Regions from separate parts of the Homo sapiens genome. Here regions 2 and 3 are each linked to region 1. The links are contacts of gene promoters, found by promoter capture Hi-C in human tissues and cell types (Jung and others, 2019). All regions are on one chromosome and are shown on one strand. Each heading gives the region's core, a stretch centred on a gene start or on the middle of the fragment in contact. The rest is flanking DNA. Distances are from core to core; before and after follow the strand shown. Region 1 holds the start of PJA2 (praja ring finger ubiquitin ligase 2). Region 2 overlaps FER (FER tyrosine kinase). Region 3 has its middle 100 kb from the start of LINC01023.

Region 1 (2,700 bases), core at 143-2,642:
TTTGCAAGATTTTGAAAAATGAACACTAAACTGTCAACTTTACACTGGAGTGGGACTGGGGGATGAAAAGAAATATTTAAATTTTACCTAACAGTCCGTTATTTATATTGTTGAAGTGTACATCAAACTTGCATGTCTGCAATGAATTTTTAAAATTAAGTGGTCATCTCATATAAAAATGACATGAACCCCAAAAGACAATTACAACACTGAAAAATACAGTTTAAACGTTTATTACTGTTATCCTCAGGTTTATTCACATACACTTCAAATGATCCGTAGCCTTCAGCAAAGGTGACTGCCATTTTAAAGAAATGTGACCAAATATTTCATGATAAAACAGAATACATTAAGCCTGCAATGAAAATTTTAAACTTCACAGAACCAGCAGACTCAAAAGAAGCGCCTATGCGGATGTAAATTTTTTTTTTTTTAATGTCCGGAGAAGGAACTCTCAGATTACTCTCCTCCCTGCAAAACGACTATTTACCACCTCCCCTTTGCTTCAACTTGGTCTGAGCGTCTTTAACCTCACCATTTTGAATGTGCGCAAAATGATTACCAGTCATCTGAGGGAGGCCAAATTAAAGGTGCATCTGCAAGAGGAGCTCTGGCCTGACATCGCTAACTGAGAGCAGCCCTGGCGGAAAGGTGCTGATCCCGGGAGTAGAGCGACTGCTGCGGCTCGAGCGGGGTGTCTGCGTGCCGAGCCTCACTGACAATCGGGGAAAATGCAGACGCCCAGCAAAACGACGGCAACAGAAGGCTCCTCGGGGGAGGGGTGCTGCAGGCCTGTGGCGTAAGATGGTTCCGCTCTACGCGGGGTGACGGGAAACCGCAGAAGGTGGGTGTGAGGTGTTGGTTGGGGGGCAAACTCTTGTACAGTGGCGAGTGTAGGGGAAAGCCAGCGGGCTCCTTGGCCAAGTCACCAAGGACAGCAGAAGAGGCAGCAGTAAAGAGCGGCAGCGAAGACCCCGATACCAACCAATGTCATCTGTCGGGGGGCGGCGGGCGCGACCGTCCCGGATAGGAGCGCGGCCCGGGTCCGGGCTGGACAGGGCCCAGGAGGCGAAGAAGGCCTCCCACAGCCATCAACCCCACCCACCATGGCCGGCGCAGCAGGCCAGGGACAAGCCCCGCTCCTTCCGAAGCTAGAGACAGAGAAACTGAGGAGCTGAACGCAGCAATTTCCTCGCCCCGACCCCCACACTCCCGACAGCGGAACAAGCCAGACTGAAAAAAAAAAAAAAAAACCCTCACCGAAATGTGCAGCGGCTCCGGAGCGAGAACAGCGCTCGAACCTCCACCCGCCACCACCGCCTTCTTCTCCGCCTCCAACTCCTCCCCCGCCGAACGCGAAGCGGCTGGCGGCTGTGGCGGCGGCGGCGGCGGTGGCGGCGGCGGAAGCAGAGGCGGTGGCGGTGAGTCCCGCCCCTTGCGCCGCGGTGGAGGCGAAGGAGGAGAGTACGCAAGCCCCTCCCCCATAGCAGAGATGACCAGTCAGCTTACAGGGTCTCTGCTGGGGGACAATGCATACGCCCAATCAGAACCTGAGGAGTGGGCTCACGTCAATGGTTGGGACGTGGCAGAAAAAGGGAAAAATACTTGGACCTTCTCTACAGCCTGCTCCCCCATCTCCCTCAGGGGGAGTTCACCAATTGGCTGAAGAGCGGAAAGACGAAGCCGACTCAGTCCCCCGCCCCAGCCGAGCCCACCTCCTTTCCCTGCAGTACTGCGACGTTTGGGGAGGGGGCGGAGCACCGTGTAGGAGCTAAAACTGCGCGGCCTTTTGTGGTTTGGGCTGAGAGAAAAGGGCGGGGTCTCGGAAAGGGAAGGGGGTGTGGAGAACTAACAGAAAGACTGGCGCAGTTAGGCTTTTTCGGAAATTCCAACAGCAACAACCAAAATGGAGGCATTAAAATCGATCCTGATTCGACTGGAAACCTGATTAACAAGGTTAAGGTCTCCTGGCATAAAGTTCAGTTACAATGCAGATATCGGTGAGACAAAAAAAAAAAATGACACGAAGAAAGGCTTGTTTACCCACCCTGACCCTGGGCACTATATGGCGCTTTCCACCCTCCCTCTCCGCGCTGACCCTTGCCCCTCGCTTCTTATTCTGCTGGGGCGGGGTTCAGAGGAGGCCTGCCTTTCCTCTGTATAGCCTTGGGCTGACCACAGCCTCCCAGCTTGCATCTTGAGGCTGTTTGTCAAGCCGGGAAGTAACAGCTCCCATCACATGCAACCAAAATAAATACAACAGCTGCAGTCCCCGGACACCTTGCTTAATTTAAACCTGGGTAACAGTTTAGTTAATTATGTCAGTGATACAAAACTGTTTCTTCGTTCCGCACATATTCCCTTTATTCATCTTGAAACGTGTCCGCTTATCTGATTACAGTCCCTCTGTCTTCTCTTATTCCCCACCCCCGACCCGTCGCCTGATGCCCAGGATATATTCATCGCCACCCCTCCCCCGCGAATTAAGAGCCCCACTTCTTGTGCTGTCCCCTTAACAACAGCGAACTCTCTTGCCAGTGAACTGAGACTAATTTTTTTTTGCTGTTGATGGAAATAAATTACCCAAAATTTACTGTAGAAATTTAGGTTTATGAGAATTTGCCAGACATTTTGTGAAATCCAATCTGAATCCCAGCCCACTCCTGTAGTACGTTTCTTACCAAAAAACCATTCCTTGCT
Region 2 (2,916 bases), core at 164-2,663, 650 kb before region 1:
CTTTGGTAAATGTCACTTTATCTGTAAAGTCTTTAATCACTCAACATAAATTTGAAATCTCCTACCTACTTCATACTTACCTTTTTCTGCTTTTAAAAATAGTGCTTATTACTACCTAACACTGTGTATTTTACTTACTTATTTTGTATTTTGTTTGTTTCCTCTTTCTAGAATATAATCTCCAGGAAGGCAAGAATTTTTACCTGTTGTATAGGAAAACTCATGGCACACAGATAGCATAGTAGGCTTTCAGCAAATATTTGTTGAACGAATTAATAAATAAGAAAAAAAAAATGTGTCGTTGCCTCACGTAACCATTAACTCTGAAACTCTGAAGGGACTTAGAATACCCTGTTTGCAAACAAGCAAGTTACCTTGCCATACTTTTATATACATACATTAATAGAAGAGCCCTGGGTCAGAGACTCAGAGGGTTTATTGCAGTAAAAGCAGTGGCCAGAGAAATATCTTAGTGCTAGTTCTCCCTGCCCCATCTCTGTGACAAAACAATGTGATGAGGGCCAGGTGTTTACCTACACATGCAGCAGATTTGCATCATAGGAGAGGAGCCTTGAAATGAGGAGACTCCAAGCTTGTATAGGGTGTTGGCACATCTGCCATCCTCCCCTGCAGAGCGAGAGAGAGATTACTTATTAAACACATCGCTTCCAGAGGAGAGGGAGAAGGTATCTTTAGGTTTCTTACCCTAGAATATAAGTAAATGTTTCCAGGGAGGGGAAGGAGAAGGCTTAATTTCTCCAAAGCTCTTTGGAGTTTTCTATCTTTAGGGAGATACTGTCTCTAGCTTCCAAGGCTGTCTGTTATGCAAATATCCATTTGTAGTACATTTTGGTCAGAAGATTCTGTGCAGGAACATGAGAAATGCAGAGTGAATTGTTTCCCAGCAGTAATTCTGAATTCCAGCAGCTATATCTATTTACATCTGAACTCATATATAGGGGCAAAATATTTTCAGACATTTCTCCGTTTCTCTTCTCTTGGTTCTTTGTTTGGGTTGCTTGATTGTCTAGTAGGTACTTATCATCATCTTTCAGTTTAGCAACCTTGGCTGAAAGATGACTTTCCTTCCTGATTAGCTTCTGCAAAAATGTTGGGATTCAGTATTATCTGTTCAATTTGGGTAACATACCTATTCCTAAACTACTGCTTGCGAGAAGGAATATGCTGATTTCCCAGACCCAGGTTATGTTCCTACCCCAGAAACATTAGAGTGCTGGTGATCAATGCCACCCAAACCGTGTGGATTGATGATAAGAGAAGGATAGTTTGGGAAAAGAAAATTAAGATGCTGCTACCAACAGAAGGGGAGATAGATGCTTCAGAGTAAAAAACAACACAGGTCTATTACTTACATGCACATGCAACTCACAATCATTTAAAAAAATATAATCTTACTGTATATAGATATAACTACTTCATTTATTTTTTACCTACCACATATCATGAACAAGAAATTTTCTTTGAAAACAATTTTATTTTATTTTTTAAATTTAATTTTATTATTTATTTATTTATTTTTGAGACGAAGTTTCACTCTTGTTGCCCAGACTGCAGTGCAGTGACGCCATCTTGGCTCACTGCAACCTCTACCTCCCGTGTTCAAGCGATTCTCCTGCCTCAGCCTCCCAAGTAGCTGGGATTACAGGCATGCGCCACCATGCCCGGCTGATTTTGTATTTTTAGTAGAGATGGGGTTTCTCCATGTTGGTCAGGCTGATCTTGAACTCCTGACCTCAGGTGATCCACCCACCTTGACCTCCCAAAGTGCTGGGATTACAGGCATGAGCCACTGCACCTGGCCGTGGAAACATAATTTTAAATGGTTGTAAAATTATACTTAAATTCTTTGTTTAAAATAAATATTTAGTTTATCAGAATTGGATTTTGAAAAACTAAGGGGATATTTATTAGAGAAGTGGGGAGAGTAGAGATGGGAAAGAGAAGTAGAGCCAGGACTAGGGTAAGGCAAGAGAGTTGCCTAGGACACAAAATATGAGACATAATCACTTTTAGGGTCATGCAGCTGCAGGGTGGCACTTGCATGATCCTGAGAGTATCTCCTTAAATTTTGCGCCCCAGGTATTTCTTTTGCATCACCCTAGTCCCATTTGTGAAGACAAGCATATTTCAGGGAATAGGAACTATTTTTTGGCTATGAATGTGCGTTAGAGATGAAAGTATGTGTAATTGAGGAAGTTCTTGGGGAAGATTAAGGTGCATTAGAAAGCAGTCATTATGCATTTTCAACTGTTATGTATGGAAACGTTTGCTGAGTCTGGTAAGCATGATAATACCTTTGAAGTAACGCAAGGAATATAATTTTTTTGATTCATAGGTTTATAGTAGTTTGAATTTTAAAAAGTTCCATTTAGAGATGCCACCAAAAAAAGTTGTTACTTTTAACCCAAATCTTTTCAATATCAAAGAAAAATGCTTTTTGTTTCATTGGAAAATAAAAATTATAGAAAAGACTGAGTTAGAGATTGAGACACAATACATGGGTCCTGTGACTAGCTTACTTTCTTTTCTCTTTTCTTTTTTTTTGACAGGGTATTGCTCTCTTACCCATGCTTGAGTACAGTGATGTGATCACAGCTCATTGCAGGCTTGACCTCCTAGGCTCAAGTGATCCTTCTGCCTCAGCCTCTTGAGTAGCTAGGACTACAGTGGGCTAGCTTTCCTGAGCAAGATACTTGACACTGCTCAATATTGGGCATGGAATCTCAGTTGAATAGTTGTCTTTCTTGAACTTAGGTCTGTGGAAATAACCATTTCCATAGCAAAGTGAGAGACTAGAACAGGGAATTCTAAATAATGCAACTATCTTTGCTGATAGAGAAGAGAGTTTAAACATTTTTCATATTAATTGGATGATCTAGTAATTTTTGGGTTTGT
Region 3 (2,850 bases), core at 97-2,596, 780 kb before region 1:
GTCAAAAGACCCTTATTCCAGAGAGGGTCCCACCCCATACTCTGGAGGAAGGAATGCTGCACAGAATGGACAAGAAGAATCTGAACAGACAGGTCTTGCTGAGTTTCCCCACTCAGTCTTCTAGTATGAGATCATACTCTTGTCCAGTCACATGTCTATGAAGTTGTCAATCATGCCTATGTAATGAAGCCTCCATAAAAACCCAAAAGGACAGGGTTTGGTGAGCTTCCAGATAGCTGAATACATGGAGGTTCCTAGAGGGTGGTGCTCCCAGGGAGGGCATGGAAGCTCCACACACCTTCCCCTCCTCTCCTTATGTATCTCTTCATCTGTAGCCTTTGTAATATCCTTTATAATAAACCAGTAAATGTAAGTGTTTCCTTGAGTTCTGTGAGCCACTCCAGCAAATTAATCAAACCCAAAGAGAGGGTCGTGGGAAGCTTAACTTGAAGCTTGTTGGTCAGAAGTTCCAGAGGCCAGGACTTGAGACTGGTATCTGAAAGTGGATATTCTTGGGGACCGAGCCTTCAACCTGTGAGATCTGATGTTATCTCCAGGTAGATAGTGTCGGAACTGAATGGGGGGACACCCAGTGCTGTCCACTGGGGAACTGATTGCCCACTTGGTGGTGGGGAGAGCCTTCTCACACACACATTTGGTCCCAGAAGTCTTCTATGTTGATGATTTTTGTGGTGTGAGAGCAGAGAAAACACCATAAAATATTAGAGTTTTTCCCAATTTGCATTATTCTTTACATAATCTGGCTTTAAGTCCTTGGTTGGTTATCTGTATTACAAATATCTTCCCTATATGATGGGTGGTAGTTTTACCCATTTAATGGTGTCCTTTAATACACAGTGCTTGAAGTTCAATTTATCAATCTTTTTCTTTATATGGTTAAGAAATTTTGCCCATGTCACAGTCATGAAGAAATTCTCCTACATTTTCTTCTAGAAACTTTGTTTTACCTTTCACATTTGGATCTGCAACCCATTTAGAATTTATTTTTTTGTATGGTGAGAGGTGGGGCACAAATTTATTTTTCCCATCTGGGTATCTACTTGATCCAACACCAATTATTAAGAAGATTATTCTTTCCCCACTGCACTGCAATGTCATCTTTGTCATAAATCAGGTAACCATATATGTTTAGGCCTATTTCTGGACTTTCTTTTCTCTTCCATTGCTCTATTTGTCAATTCTTATGCCACTACCATACTGTCTTAATTATTACAGCTCTTGGTATCTGATAATACAAGTCCAGCAGCTTTGTTTTTCTTTAAGATTGCCTTAGCTATGCTTGGCTCTTTGCCTTTCCATCTAAGTTTTAGAATTTGATTGCCAATTTCCAAAACAAAAATTTTGCATGGACTGTCATTTAAATTTGATTGCATTTTTAAAGGTAGTGTTCTCTTTTCACCTGTTTTTTTAGGTGAAACATTTGTTGAGCCTCTTTGTATACTTTTTCCTACAGTGGAGACTGGTGGAAGTTGAAGTGGTTTTGAAATATTTTTGTGTTTAACTGTGTTCAGTTAAAATATAACTATCCTAGAACAGAGATATTATTCAAGTAAAACCCACTGAATCATATTAATCCTGACCTTACCTCTCCACTCTGAGTGGAGACATTTTCTATACAGAATAGTCAAGGCAAATAATGGTGAGCGAGAAAAGAGAATCAGAGTTCACATGAAACTTGCTAAAATCAGACGATCTCTGCAATTCCAATCAATATATTTTTCTTCCTTTCATTTTGCTCCTTTACATTGTGTTGAAAGGTAACAAAAGTAAGCTGTGTCTCTGCATTATCACTTGTTTTGGAGGTCATGGCTACTGTCAACTTCTCTGGGGAACAGTCCCTCATCTGTACCGCTGTTCTGTATTATTATGGCCTGTGCATCTTCACTTTCTCTTTCCTCTTCATTTTCACATTTCACTTGCTGCTCCTCAGTTTGCTCTGTGTCATTTCAGTGTTGTGTCTGAGTGACAAATGAGTGTTCAACCCTCTTTCTTTTCATGAGATTGTTATAGTCTCTAAAAAACCAAGTGCCATAGTACGCTTGTGAAACTGATGGTGATGCTGTCAAGCCTAAGAAAATTTCTGTCTACAAGAGAATATAGAGAATAAATCTTTGTCAACAGGCTTCCCTGTCCATTAGATTGAGAATTTCATGCCAGCCACATTTAAAATCTTGTATGGTATTAATACTAATCAGTGTTTATTAACATTCAGACATGTTCACAACTGTTGTAGCAGCTGAGTGTCTGTAAGTTAAATTGATTTTAGTCCTTAGATATCAATTAACAGCACTGCTTCACATTTTCATAATGAAATACAGTTGTTTGGGGGTGTTTATGAAATGACATCCATTTGATTTATAAGTAACCTTGACTAGGAAGTCTCTGTGTGTTAGAATGTAAATGATCACCTCCCCCACTTTGATTGCCACATTGCAGCTGTATATTCCCATTTCCAAACAGTAAGAGACAAAGATCTGGAAACACAACAAAGTTAGAGTCTGTCAGCCCACAGCAGGTAGCGAAGATAGTGTTCAGACTAGCTTTTAACCAGACCAACCATGAGTCCGCTAAGGGGACTGTGTGAGGATGTAGTGAAGAAACCTCAGGAGGTGTTCTGAATTCAAAAGAAGAAGAAAAATCAGGCTCAGAATGCTGGCAACCTGTTCACAGGCACATTTTAACCCTAAAGAAGCTTGGAGTCTGACCTGCCTTCGTGAGTCAAGATATTCAATCAAAGCAAGCCCCAGAGGTGTAGGGAGAAAAAAATACCACCCCCTGGTTTTCTACCCCAAATGCAATTTAGAGTTGATTGAGAGGTTTGCTGAAACC

Evidence for each region. The method cuts DNA at HindIII sites, captures the fragments that hold promoters and counts their contacts. A contact is called where the count stands out against the background at its distance.
Region 2: a fragment that was not itself captured here is called in contact with the fragment with the promoter of PJA2 in region 1 in 2 of the 25 tissues and cell types used here (hippocampus and spleen).
Region 3: a fragment that was not itself captured here is called in contact with the fragment with the promoter of PJA2 in region 1 in 2 of the 25 tissues and cell types used here (dorsolateral prefrontal cortex and lymphoblastoid cells).

The regions. Positions count from the first base shown.
Region 1 is chr5:109,408,582-109,411,281 of GRCh38, forward strand. It overlaps PJA2 (praja ring finger ubiquitin ligase 2), which reads right to left and starts at 1,393. Exons shown (of 10, transcript NM_014819.5): 1 at 1,261-1,393. RefSeq lists enhancers at 478-577, 618-737, 1,848-2,027 and a silencer at 1,258-1,337. The HindIII fragment of the contact is 22,167 bases long and covers 1-2,700 here.
Region 2 is chr5:108,762,875-108,765,790 of GRCh38, forward strand. All of the region lies in intron 1 of FER (FER tyrosine kinase), which reads left to right. Among named protein-coding and RNA genes, the nearest start is that of FER, 16 kb to the left of the region's middle. The HindIII fragment of the contact is 7,509 bases long and covers 1-2,916 here.
Region 3 is chr5:108,623,906-108,626,755 of GRCh38, forward strand. No RefSeq gene overlaps it. Among named protein-coding and RNA genes, the nearest start is that of LINC01023, 100 kb to the right of the region's middle. The HindIII fragment of the contact is 5,216 bases long and covers 1-2,850 here.